Regions from separate parts of the Homo sapiens genome. Here region 2 is linked to region 1. Evidence: promoter capture Hi-C in 16 types of primary human blood cells and fetal thymus (Javierre and others, 2016). All regions are on one chromosome and are shown on one strand. The core of a region is centred on a gene start or on the middle of the fragment in contact, and the rest is flanking DNA. Distances in the headings are between cores, read along the strand shown.

Region 1 (6,824 bases), core at 1,167-3,666:
GCCTCCCAAGTTCAGGCCATTCTCCTGCCTCAGCTTTCCGAGTAGCTGGGACTACAGGCGCCCCCCACCATGCCTGGCTAATTTTTTTGTATTTTTAGTAGAGATGGGGTTTCGCCGTGTTAACCAGGATGGTCTTGATCTCCTGACCTCGTGATCCGCTCATCTCGGCCTCCCAAGGTGCTGGGATTACAGGCGTGAGCCACCGTGCCCGGCCGAGTGTTCATTTTCAAATGAGGTAATACATACGATTACAGATACACTGCAACACGCCAGCATTGAGCTTTTTTGTTAAACTCTGTAAATATCTTGTGAATAGTGTATTTGTACGTATGTTAAAATAATTACTTGAGCTTCTGTCCACTCTGTTTGGCATTTTAAAATCTTTTCAGGCCGGGCGCGGTAGCTCACGCCTGTAATCCTAGCACTTTGGGAGGCCGAGGTGGGCGAATTGCCTGAGCTCAGGAGTTTGAGACCAGCCTGGGCAACATGGTGAAACCCCGTCTATACTAACATACAAAAACAAAAAAACAAAAACAAAAAAAATCAGCCGGGCGTGGCGGTGTGCGCCTGTAGTCCCAGCTACTCAGGAGGCTGAGGCAGAAGAATTGCTTGAACCTGGGAGGCAGAGGCTGCAGTGATCCGAGATCCTGCCACTGCACTCCAGCCTAATGACAGAGCGAGACTCTGTCTCCAAAAAAAAAAGAAAGAAAGAAAGAAAGAAAAGAAAGAAAAAAAAGAAAAAGAAAAAATTTTTCAATAAGTTGGATTTGGTGGTGGCAGGAAATCCCAGCTACTCGGGAGGCGGATGCAGGCAGATTGCTGGAGACCAGGTGTTCAAGGTCAGCCTGCACAACATAGTAAGACCTCGTCTCAAAAAAAGAAAAGAAAGAAAAAATATTTTTAATATGCAACAAGCCTCAAAAAATGGAAGTGGTCCCCGTTTCTCTTAATGTCTTGGAGGCCAAAAAAAGGTACTGGTTGGTGAAATACACATATAGATATCATCAGTACCCAGATGTTAATTAACGCCAAGGGAGTGTAAAGGGTCGCCCAAGAGAGCGACTTTACGGGAAAAGAAGGCTCTGGAACCAGAACATTTAAAAGACTCACTGAAGGAGAGGCGCCTACAAAGGATGCTAATCAGGAATGGCCAAAGAGATGGCAGAAAAACCAAGTGAAATGGTTAGGGAAAGATGGGGGAAAAAAACATAAGGATAACTCAAGCCAATAGTGCATTTTAAGAAGGGTATTAAGGCCGGGCGCTGTGGCTCACGGCCGTAATCCCAGCGCTTTGGGAGGTCGAGGCAGACGGATCACCTGAGGTCAGGAGTTTGAGAGCAGCCTGGCCAACATGGCGAAAACCCTGTCTCTACTAAAAATACAAAAATTGGCTGGGCATGGTAGCGGGCGCCTACAATCCCAGCTATTCAGGAGGCTGAGGCAGGAGAATCCCCTGGACCCGGGAGCTGGAGGTTGCAGTGACCCGAGATCGCGCCACTGCTCTCGAGCCTGAGCGACTGGGTGAGACTTCATCTGAAAAAAAAAAGAAAAGAAAAAGAAAAAAAGATTAATCAAAGTGTCAAATATTTCTTTCTTTTTCTTTTTCTTTCTTTTTTTTTTTTTTTTTTTTGAGACGGAGTCACACTGTGTTGCCCAGGCTGGAGTGCAGTGACACGATCTCGGCCCACTGCAACCTCCTCCTCCCAGGTTCAAGCGATTCTCCTGCCTCGGCCACCCGAGTAGCTGGGATTACAGGCGTGCACCACCACGCCCGACTAATTTTTGTATTTTTAGGGGAGATGGGGTTTCTGCATGTTGGCCAGGGTGGTCTCGAACTCCTGACCTCAGGTGATCCACACGCCTCGGCCTCCCAAAGTGCTAGGATTACAGGTTGTGAGCCACCGCGCCCGGCCAATGTCAAATATTTCGCTGATTTTCCTCGGTCAGCACCACCACAATAATTGTGCCACCTTACCCATGCAAGGTTTAGACATCTCTTTGACTCTTTTACAGGGTTTTATACTGTGGTTTCCATTATTTCCTCTAACTAGACAGCAGAAGCGGCTTACTCATTTTTCTCTTCCATAGAGTCTTACTCCGATCGTTCAATTAATATCAGTGGAATGATTTAAAGAACATTTGAAAAACCACTCGGACAAAACCCTCAGATTCGAACTTGTTCCAGCAGCCAAAAATACCCGCGGGCCACGGCTACACTGCGCAGGCGCAAAGGCAGATGGGCTTTCTCCAGAAGGGCTTTGCATTTGGCGCGAAATCCCTTTCCGTGGGCTGGGGCTCTTGGAGAGGCGCCGTTCATTGGTCAGGTTTGGCGCGAAATCTCCAGCTCCTGTGTCACGATTGGTTCCGGCCGTGCAGGTCGGAAGAGGGGGCGGGGCGGAAGCGGCGGCGGCGCGCGCAAAGCTGCAGCGTCTGGAAAAAAGCGACTTGTGGCGGTCGAGCGTGGCGCAGGCGAATCCTCGGCACTAAGCAAATATGGACCTCGCGGCGGCAGCGGAGCCGGGCGCCGGCAGCCAGCACCTGGAGGTCCGCGACGAGGTGGCCGAGAAGTGCCAGAAACTGTTCCTGGACTTCTTGGAGGAGTAAGTCGGCGAGCGCCCCGGGCCTCGCCCGCCTCCGGAGCCTGCGGCGTCTGGGCCAGGCGGTGCCGTGTGGGCGGCGGGTGTTCCGGAACCTGGGGGTCGCGCGTCCGGGAAGCGCCTCCCCGCCCGCCCCCCAACTTTAGGCTCCGAGCCCGGCGGCCGCGAGGAGCCTGGGACAGGCTGGGTTTTTCTGGAGTAAAACCCATCTCGAGCCCTAAGACGCTCGTGCCCAGTGCTCAGCGCTTTGCTTCTGTCACTTGATGCTCACCACCCCGCGAGCCTGGTATTTGCACAGCCCTCGGTGACCGGCGCGGAAACCTGGGCTCGCTGAGTATAGTAACTGGGCCGCTGGGTGCGGCCAGGTCGAGTGGGAGGCCGAAGTGCCATTGAATCTCGTCGGTGCCCTGCTGGGCCACGCAGCCGGGAGCATGGTGCTGGGGGTTCGCAGGGCACGGGCCACCCTCGCCTCTTGTGCTGATGAAAGTTTCTGCGTCAACTGTGGTTTGAAAGCTGCTGGGGGGCGGAGCCCTGCCCTGCAGAGAGTAGCTCACCATATCCCTTCTTCTGGGTCCCTTGCTCCCCTTTCCCTCTGGCCTTCCTTTCCTTTCTCTACTCTTCTTTTTTTCTGTGCCTCTGGGCTCCTAGCTTCATAACCCCAACCTCCTCCCTGGCTTGCCTCACCCACCGGTTATTTTTCCTGGAGCAGATACACCACGGCCTCCAGGATGAAGGGTCAGCAGTTTGGAATGGCTTTTGAAGTTCTTTTTTAGTAAAATATACATAACAAAGTTGACCATTTTAGCCATTTTTAAGTGTAGAGTCCAGTGGCACTAAGTGCATTCACCTCGTTGTGCAGCCGTCACCACTCTCCCATCTCCAAACTTTTTTTTTTTTGAGGCGTAATTTAGCCCTTGTTGCCCAGGCCGGAGTGCAGTGTCACCATCTCAGCTCACCGCAACCTCCGTCTCCCGGGTTCAAGCTATTCTCCTGCCTCAGCCTCCCTACTAGCTGGAATTACAGGCATGCGCCACCACGCCCGGCTAATTTGGTATTTTAGTAGAGATGGGGTTTCTCCATGTTGGTCAGGCTGGTCTTGAACTCCCGACCTCAGGTGATCCCCCCGCCTGGGCTTCCCAAAGTGATTACAGGCGTGAGCCACCGTGTCCGGCTCCAAACTCTTTTCATCTTCCAAACTGACATTCTGTGCCCATTAAACACGAACTCTCCTCCGTTACCCTCTCCCTCAGCCACCGTCACCCACCACTCTGCTTCCTTTCATTATGAGTTTGACCACTCTAGGTACCTCATATAAGTGGAAGCGTGTAGTATTTGTCCTTTTGTGTCTGGCTTGTGTAACATAATGTCTACAAGGTTCCTCTGCGAGGTAGCATGTGTCAGAATTTCCTTACTTTTTAAGGCTAAATAACATTGTCTGTACACATTGAGTATCCCTTTTCTGAAACGCTTGGGACCAGAAGAGTTTGGGATCTTGGATTTTTTTTTCAGATTTGGAATGTTTACATTATACTTAACCAATTGCATCCCTAATTTGAAATGCTCCAGTGAAAATCATGTCAGCACTCAAAAAGTTTCAGATTTTGGACCATTTCATATTTTAAATTTTCAGATGAGGGCTGCTCAACCTGTATATATACTGCATTTTGCTTATCCATTCAGTGGACACAGGTTCATTCCACCTTTTGTCTATTGTGAATAATGAGGTTCATTCCACCTTTTGGCTATTGTGAATAATGCTGCCTTCTTAGGAAATTTTGGTATACTTAAAACCATAATTTAATTTCCATTTCACTACCTATGGCAATGTTATTGTCTGCCTGATAGTTCCTCCTTCAAAGCCCAGCTAAAAACTCACACCTTTGTGAAACCTTGTACACCTTTTTGAGAGGCACTAATCCTTTCTTCCTTAGGCTCCCAGGGTGCTGTTTGTTTTTCATTATCTCTGGCAGTGTAACACATTTACCTCCTAGCTACTTAGTCTGGAATTCAAATTCCATCCTCAACCCCACCTACCCACCACATCACATTACAAAGGTTTTTCAATAAACGTTTCATTTCAACAAATAATCTAAGTGCCTTGACTTTGCAGCTAGATGATAATGATGAGACAAATAATCTCTGTGCTTTGTTTAAAGAAATGCCAACTCCCTGTCACAAAATAAACTTTAATTCACCATTGCTTGTGGAATAAAGTTCAAATTCTTCATCACTCCTCTTTCCTGTTTGTCTTACAAAAACACCCCAGTCATCATCCACACTTCTCCCCTACCTTCTCTGACTTAATCACATTCTTGGAATCATCTAGTCAGTCACTTCACCACCTGTTTTTATTTGAAATTTTTAACTCTTTCAGAAGCTGAATTCCAACGCCACCTTTTATATGTATAACTTGTAGTTGTTTTTTTAGGCAGAATTAGTTTCTATTCCCCTAGCACATTTCTTGTTCTTCTCATTAACAGGAACATCTTTCTTGTCTGTCTTCATTGCTTACATGTCTAACTCCCTAGACGCAGACAAAGTGTTAGTTAACCCTAGGGCAGGAACAACACTGCCATTTTCAGCCTCAGGTACCTCTGTTATAGGGCTTTGCACGTAGTTGTTTAACAAATATTTTAAGGAGTCAGAACATGCTGTATATGGAGGAGAAATTGATTTTTTCTTAAGGCGAATCTGCATATTATGTTTGAAAGAACAGAAATAAATTTGTATGATATCCTGCTTGGGCTTTAGAAGCAAAAATACCAGCAGCTTTATTTAGTGTGCCTGTTTCAATTTTCCCGAAGTCTTGGGCTGTGAAACACCTCATTTCCATGTATTCTTATTTCTGTTCTGCTTCTTAAATCCCTGACTAATTTGTTAGTTTGCAAATTCCCTACAGAAATGGAATCATTGGGTTTGAGACTGAATTTCTTGATTTAACATTTTCCAATCTTAATTATACATGACAGTAGTAAAAGAAGAGTTAGTTGTTGGGTTTTTTTGTTAGTTAGCAGTTAAACCTCACAATCATGGTGGAAGGCAAGGAGGAGCAAGTCACTGATGTCTTACGTGGATGGCATCAGGCAAAGAGAGCTTGTGCAGAGGAACTCCTCTTTTTAAAACCATCAGATCTCGTGAGACTTACTATCAGAGAACAGCAGGGGAAAGACTTGTCCCCATGCTTCAATTAACTCCCACCAGGTGCCTCCCACAACATGTGGAAATTCAAGTCGAGATTTGGGTGGGGACACAGCCAAACCATATCAGAAGGGAGGAGTAACTTGCCCCAAGTTACAGAACTGCCAAACATGGGCCTGTCTGAGCCTAGTTGTTGGACTTTAACCAATGTTCTGAATTATCATTCAGGTTCTTTGTACTGCCTGTGTCCTTAATCTAGTTGACTCGAATGTACCTGCAGGTTTCAGAGCAGCGATGGAGAAATTAAATACTTGCAATTAGCAGAGGAACTGATTCGTCCTGAGAGAAACACATTGGTTGTGAGTTTTGTGGACCTGGAACAATTTAACCAGCAACTTTCCACCACCATTCAAGAGGAGTTCTATAGGTATGGGCATATTAATCTTCTTTACTTTGAATAGGGGTTGAAATCCGGGAAGCCAGCTCTTCTTGGACTGTAAGTGTTCACTTGTGTAGCAGAAGGTCAGCTTTCACAGTTATTTCCCACTGAGAAGAGGCGCTTTGATACTGCCAGTGGTCGTTTTAGTACTGCTCTGAACTTCATGTAGGCCTTTGTAGAGCCGAACGTTTTTTTGTTGTTGTGTTTTGTTTGTTTGTTTGTTTGTTTGTTTTTTGAGACGGAGTCTTGCTCTGTCACACCTAGGCCGAAATGCAGTGGCGCGATCTTGGCTCACTGCAACCTCTGCCTCCCGGGTTCAAGCGATTCTTCTGCGTCAGCCTCCCGAATAGCTGGGATTACAGGCGCCCACCATCACGCCCGGCTAATTATTTACATTTTTTAATAGAGACGGGGTGTCACCATGTTGGTCAGGCTGGTCTCGAACTCCTGATCTCAGGTGATCCGCCCGCCTCGGCCTCCCAAAATGCTGGGATTACAGGCGTGAGCCACCGTGCCCGGCCAGAGCTGAACTTTTTTTTTCAAATACAAATGTTGAAAATCTTTGCTTTCTATATAGTTTTCCCAAGAGGAAAACTGTACTTACTTACTTTTGTGTCATTCCATTGATCCTTTTTCCCCACAGGAATAGG
Region 2 (6,824 bases), core at 1,120-3,619, 930 kb after region 1:
ATTATCAGATGTATGGCTGTCTTGAACAGAAATATTTCCTGAATTTAGAGGTACTGGCGCAGGGAATGCTGATGTAGATGGTTTCTGAAAACTTGGGTTTGTAGGCACACCAGTGACACTATCTACTAAAATGGAATTCTGGACCAAAGATGAACCAAGAAGTGGTGTCTCTGATACCTGTCCATCTACTTTTGGTTTCCTAGCTGCCTGATTAGCCTATTAAAATAAAACACAGAAGAAGCAGTGATATAGCAAAATAATTTAATGCAAATTTCTTGTCTTATAAAAGTTATATATTAAAAACATTATATATTAAACATATGGAAATAAAATGACCTGGGGTTCAAGATTTTATGTTGTCAGTAAATAAATGCCTTAGAGGCATAAAAGGCTATAAAAAATTGAAAACACCCATTTTAGAATCAGATACAAGTTAAATCCTAGCCCAGCACTTCAGAAAGTAATTTAACTTGTCTAGGCTTCAGTTTCCCCATTTGTAAAATGAAGAGGATACTTTTGTCATAATCACTGCAAAAAATTTTTTAAAAGTATAATGTACTTTAGCAAAGTCCACTGGACTCAGTAGTTGAATATGTGAGTATATGTAACTTGAGATACGTTGAATTATTCAGGAATACTGCAAAGATTATTTAACCACAAAAATTCAAACTGGTTAGCTATGTAAATGTTACATAAAAGACTGAAATTCTGTTAAACCCTGTCAATTCTCTTACCCTCCAGTTTCGAATCTTCTTCAACCTATTAGGCGTTTTCTCCAATATTTGTAGAAACTCATGTGTTAGCTCTAAAAATAAAATTTAAATTTGAAACTTAGAAGGTGCCTTTAGGATTTAAATTTCTCTTAAGTGGGCAGTATTAAAAAGGAATGCTAGGAGTTCATCTACTTCACTTTTACCCTCCTATTAAATCCTCAGCATACACAGAAGTACACACAACTCTCAACCGGCATTTTCAAAGCTGAATCCTTTTGTAACGATTACTTTCCCTCTTGATTTTACTTGCTTAATTAGAATCTCTAGAAAATCTAGTAGCATTAAAAATAATCACCCCCCCAATAAAAAAAAAATCTTCATTAGGCAAACACCACAATAATTTTTGTCACAGACAAGATCTATCAAAAGATTCTTTAAAATTAGTGGACAAAAGTTTGAGGAAAAACGTTATTTGTATAATCCCAACGTATCTTCCCCATGAAATGTATTAATTACAAAGAGAAAAAAAATAGTGACTTTAAAGTGCAGAAACCACTTTAAGGATACCACTGTAACCAAGTGATCACGGTTGTCATGACCAGTTATAAGACGTATCAACATACTGTACCCCTTGATATGATGCACCAAGCAAGACCCAATTTACTTCTATGGTATTCTTGCTCAAAATGGATAACTTCGACATAATAATGAGAAATCATCAGACAAACCCCAACTAAGGAACACTGTATAAAATGACCATTATTCTCCTAAGTGTCAGTGTTATGAAAGACAAGGAAAGATTGGAGAACTGTCACAGACTGGAGAAGACTTGAAGGGACATGTCAACTAAATGGAACATGGGATCCTAGAATAGGGAAAAATATGGAATACTGAATAACATCTGTGGTTTAGTTAACAGTATTGTACCAATGTTAACTTCCTAGTTTTGATAATCATATATTGTTATGTAAGATGTTAGTACCAGGAGAAGCTAAAGGGTATACAGGGAACTATGCAATATTTTGCATTTCTTTCTTTCTTTTTTTTGTTAAATAACAGAGACAGGGTCTCGCTATGTTGACCAGGCTGGTCTCAAACTCCTGGCCTCAAGTGATCCTCCTATCTTGGCCTCCCAAAGTGCTGGAATTACAGGTGTGAGCCACCACACCCAGACTTTTTTTTTAAAGGGGAAAATTCCTCCAAATATACTTCCTAGCTATCAACACTATTAATATATTAGCAAACTATCTTCATTGTAAATTTCTACCAACTTTCTTAAAATTCTGATTACAATCAAATGACCCACTTTTCCAAAGTAGTGTGGTTTTGATGAACTAATAATGTCATTAATAGTTACTAGCCACTCTCAAATATTCATCAGTCAAATACATCAGAATATTATATAATATTAATAATGCCAATTCCACCTCAATACTGGGGGAACCTCTATTAATAGAGACTACAGGTTCATTTTGTAATAGCAAGCTTTTTTGTAAACTATTCTAAGCCAATGTTAAGATCGACACTTCAGACAAGCTATAATTTAACCATTAATCTTTCAAGATGTAATTTCCTTGACAATGTCATGACTAGTCCCTGCTAAAGTCTCATGAGCTTTTTCATCCAGTTTGGATGAAAAAAACCCTAATGCCCAGACCTTTACTTCCTCATTTGAAAAAAAAAGAAAAAAAAAAAGACTATTTTTCTACTTTTGGGTCCAACATTAACAAAACTGTTTTGACTCAATTTCTGTTAACAACTTGGTTGTAAAACATTAAATACACTTCAAGTTCTGGTCCAAAATCTCGTACACAAAATGTAAGCTTTGTTTTTCTTAAGTATCCTACTGTATTAAATTTTATAGCAGAACAACAAAAGAATCTGTTAAATAATCCATTAACATAATTAATTAGCTATATGCACAAAAATCACAGTATGTGCCTAAAATAGAGGCCCTTCTCTCTCAAAGCTACTGTCTAAGCCAATGTTCTTTTCTGGAACACAATCATTAAGTGAATTATTTCAGTAAGTAATAAGAATAGTAGTATCACTTCACTCTACAATTCAGATAAATCTTCATGTCTTTTTTTTTCCCCCCAGACAGGGTTTCCTCTGTTGCCCAGGCTGGAGAGCAGTAGCATTATCACAGCTCACTACAACCTTGACGTCTCAGGCTCAGGTGATCCTCCCACCTTAGCCTCCACAGTAGTTGGGTCTATAGGAGTGCGCCACCATGCCCGGTTTGTGTGTATTTTTAGTAGAAACGTGGTTTTGCCATGTTGCTCAGGCTGGGCTCAAACTCCTGTGCTCAAGATATGTGAGTGACTGCACCCGGCCACACCTTCATGTCTTTAATTTTGAATTGCCTTTTTGTGACTGACACAGAAAAAAAAGCTGCTGCAAAACATGGTGAAAGTCTTAACATATCAGTTCTCCAAGATTCCTATTCAATTGCTCTCCAAATTAACAAACTTTACTTTTCAGAATGGAAATGAGGTAGCTCCTCCTGTGTCAAAAAACCCCACATAAACCACAACCTAACCTCTGACCTAAAGACAGGATAAAAGGCAGATTACTTTTCTGTGATCTTTTTACTTCAGCACCAGGTATATAAACTATTTTTATTACGATTATGCCTACTGGCTGGGTGTGGTGGTTCACGCCTGTAATCCTAACACTTTGAGGCCAAGGTGGGTGGATCATGAGGTCAGGAGTTCAAGACCAGCCTGGCCAACATGGTGAAAACCCTATCTCTACTAAAAATACAAAAATTAGCCAGGCGTGGTGGCAGGCACCTGTAATCCCAGCTACTCAGGAGGCTGAGGCAGAGAACTGCTTGAACCCGGGAGGCGGAGGGTGCAGCGAGCCGAGATTGCGCCACCGCACTCTATAGCCTGGGCGACTGAGACTCTGTCCCCCACCCCCCCCCCGAAAAAAAAATTTTGCCTACCTAATCTTAATCTAGTGACTATTAAACTAAAACAATGACCTAGATAACCTGATTTTTCAAGCTATAGAACAGATAAGCCCTCACTGAGTTTTAGATGTCATTTCAACTCATTGAAGACTTCCTTTCCTCTGGATAAACTCTGAAAAAGCCTCTAACAATTTAAGAAAAACATTATAATCATGCAGCAATAATACAGCATGAGATATATATTCTGGGATAATTTTTTCCAGGTGGAAAACAAAATAGAAAAGGATGAAACAAAGAAGCATATTTCACAAATAAGAACAGGCAAACTATGGATAATTGGCCAAATATGGCTGGCCACCTATTTTTGTCAACAAAAGTTTTACTGGAACACAGTCACACCCAATCAGTTACAAATTGCCTATGGCTGCTTTCTGGCTGCAATGGTATAGTTGTATAGTTGCAACAGAGACCTTATAGTTCACAAACTCTAAAATAGTGTTACTCTTTGCAGACCCCTATCTTAAAGAAACATCAGGTGGGGCACAGAGGCTCAAACCTGTAATCCCAGCCCTTTGGGAGGCTAAGACAGGTGGACTGCAAAACCCCATCTCTACTAAAAATACAAAACTTAGCTGGGCGTGGTGGCATGCGCCTATGGTCCCAGCTCCTCAGGAGGCTGAGGCAGGAGAATCGCTTGAACCTGGGAGGCAGAGGTTGCAGTGAGCCCAGGTTGCACCACTGCGCTCCAGCTTGGGGGGCAGAGTGAGTATCTGTCTCAAAAAACAAAACAACACAAAACAAGGCCAGGCACAGTGGCTCAAGCCTGTAATCCCAGCACTTTGGGAGGACAAGGTGGGCAGATCATCTGAGGTGAGGAGTTTGAGACCAGCCTGGCCAACATGGTGAAACCCCATCTCTACTAAAAACACAAAAACTAGTTGGGTGTGGTGGCTCGTGCCTGCAGTCCCAGCGACTTGGGAGGCTGAGGCAGGAGAATTGCTTGAACTCGGGAGGTGGAGGTTGCGGTGAGCCAAGATTGCACCACTGCACTCCAGCCTTGGCGACAGAGTGAGACTGACTCAAAAAAAAAAAAAAGTGTTATCTATTTTCTTGCTGAAATCTACAGTACGTGGTTAAAATGCCCTAATCCCAAGAATCTCCCATTTCTGGCCGGCTTCTTTTACTTCTCAACCAGAGGAATTTCTCATCAAAACATCCCCAAAATTCCACGTTCCTAATTAACAGAACACACACCCACAATTTCTCCTTGTGTATTCATATTTAACAATGTAAGGCAACAATGGTAATACAGAGCAAGAAACACAATCCCCTGAAAATCCCTTTCGTTTACTGCTTCACAGTTAACACTCAACTTTCAGTATACACATTTAAAACTCAACAGAATTAGTATACTTTAAATCACTATTCTTATCTTGTCAGCTTATGGAATTCTAAACCTTACTTATTTATTTTTTAAGTCCTGAAAAAGCTTTAGATATTTGGTGGTAGTTAATATATACCCAGGCTGGAGTAGAGCAGTGCCTTCAAGGCTTACCGCAGCCCTGACTTCCCGTGCTCAAGTGATCATCCCGCCTCAGCCTCCCAAGTAGCTGAGACTATAGGCACGCACCACCACACCCAGTCAATTTTTAACTTTTTTTTTGTAGAGACAGGGTCTATGTTGCCCAGCCTGGTCTTGAACTCCTGGGCTCAAGTGATCCTCCTGCCTCAGCCTCCTACAGTGCTGGGATTACAGGTATGAGCACAGCTTCCAGACTCTATTTTTTTTTCTTTAGGCTGATGAATTGTTGTTTTCATTCTGTTCATCTGATAGTGTACTGACACTTTCTATTGTCAATTCAGACAACTGCCAACTTAGATAATTCCAAACTTAAAAATTTATTTTCTCTACTTACCATCTAATAATTCTAGAGTAACTGTAGGATCCACATATTCCCACCAATGCTTTCCATCAGTTGATACAGGGATCTCCCAATTGGACCATTTGCAAGCCAAATGAATGCATACACATGCTATCACTGTTGGTTTGTACTGAAGACAGAAGGTTGTAAGATGCAGACTGTTGCAGAGCAGGTTTGAAAATGGAGAGCCATAAAAATTCAAGTATGTAAAACAAAGAAAAACATTTACCAGTAAGATTAGAGCAAAATTTAAACTCTATCTTTAAGTCTAGAGTATAAAACCTTATTTTATTAAATTAAAAGCTAAGTTATAAAATTCTAGTACTAAAAAATCTACATAAAATGAACATTTCCCCTCACTCACTCCCGAGTATATTACTAATATATTAATATTTAAAATTTTGTTTTTACATCTAAAATTGAAGTATTTTATAAAAGGAGAGGAGGATAGTATATTTGCAATAATCACTATATAGATAACACTGTAAATTTTTTGTGGTATTTTTCTTTTGTAATGTCATGGTAAATATGTAAATGGAAAGATAAAAACTATTTGTAAAATTGACAAAGTAATTTCAATCTCACAATAATCAGGGATTATCCCAACTGAAGTGGCTTAATAGGCATTTGCTTTCTTTAGTGAAGCAGAGAATTAAACACGTATCTATGTAAATCTATGCCTTGTTTTTCAGCAAAGCCACAAAGGAAACTTACCTTTTGCCAAACAGCTTCAAGGCTCAATGTTATTAAATACTGCAAAAATACTACCTTTCTCCTTCCACTATATGCCAAATATGGGGCATGAAATATGTGTCACAGCTAGCCTTTTCTAATCAAAGTTCCAAATTTAAGTCTTTTTATGTTGCTGTTCAGAATTACTGGGGATAGAGGTTAAATACCAACAACAGATATTTGAGAAAATATAGCAGTATTTGCCAATGTGAAATTGTAAATAAAACTTATCAGTGTCACAAGAAATTAGGGACCATACAAAGCTGGTTTGGTCCCTTCTCCCCAATGATCCACTCAAAAAGACAAATTTAAATCATTAATAAATCTAGAACAGAATTATATATTAAAGGCTCCTTAAGACTATTCTTCCAGTTCAGTTTCAATGATGGAAATGTTATCTGTTCAGCCATAAACACATACCATTTTTTACTCTATATAAACTGAAAAGGAAGGTTTTTTTGTTTAAAAAAAAAAAAAAAGGAAAAATTGTGTTTATGCAAATCCAGGCATGGATAGGACTTGACTACTTTTAACTTGCTA

What was found. The method cuts DNA at HindIII sites, captures the fragments that hold promoters and counts their contacts. A CHiCAGO score of 5 or more calls a contact.
Region 2: a fragment that was not itself captured here is called in contact with the fragment with the promoter of MCM6 in region 1 in 2 of 17 cell types (fetal thymus and erythroblasts); the score reaches 6.6 in fetal thymus.

The regions. Positions count from the first base shown.
Region 1 is chr2:135,872,035-135,878,858 of GRCh38, reverse strand. It overlaps MCM6 (minichromosome maintenance complex component 6), which reads left to right and starts at 2,416. Exons shown (of 17, transcript NM_005915.6): 1 at 2,416-2,600; 2 at 6,016-6,162. The coding sequence starts at 2,494. RefSeq lists enhancers at 2,142-2,201, 2,892-3,021, 2,791-3,326 and a silencer at 2,662-2,821. The HindIII fragment of the contact is 12,304 bases long and covers 1-6,824 here.
Region 2 is chr2:134,946,622-134,953,445 of GRCh38, reverse strand. It overlaps CCNT2 (cyclin T2), which reads right to left. Exons shown (of 9, transcript NM_058241.3): 7 at 5,547-5,710; 8 at 735-805; 9 at 1-216. Among named protein-coding and RNA genes, the nearest start is that of CCNT2, 31 kb to the right of the region's middle. The HindIII fragment of the contact is 338 bases long and covers 2,201-2,538 here.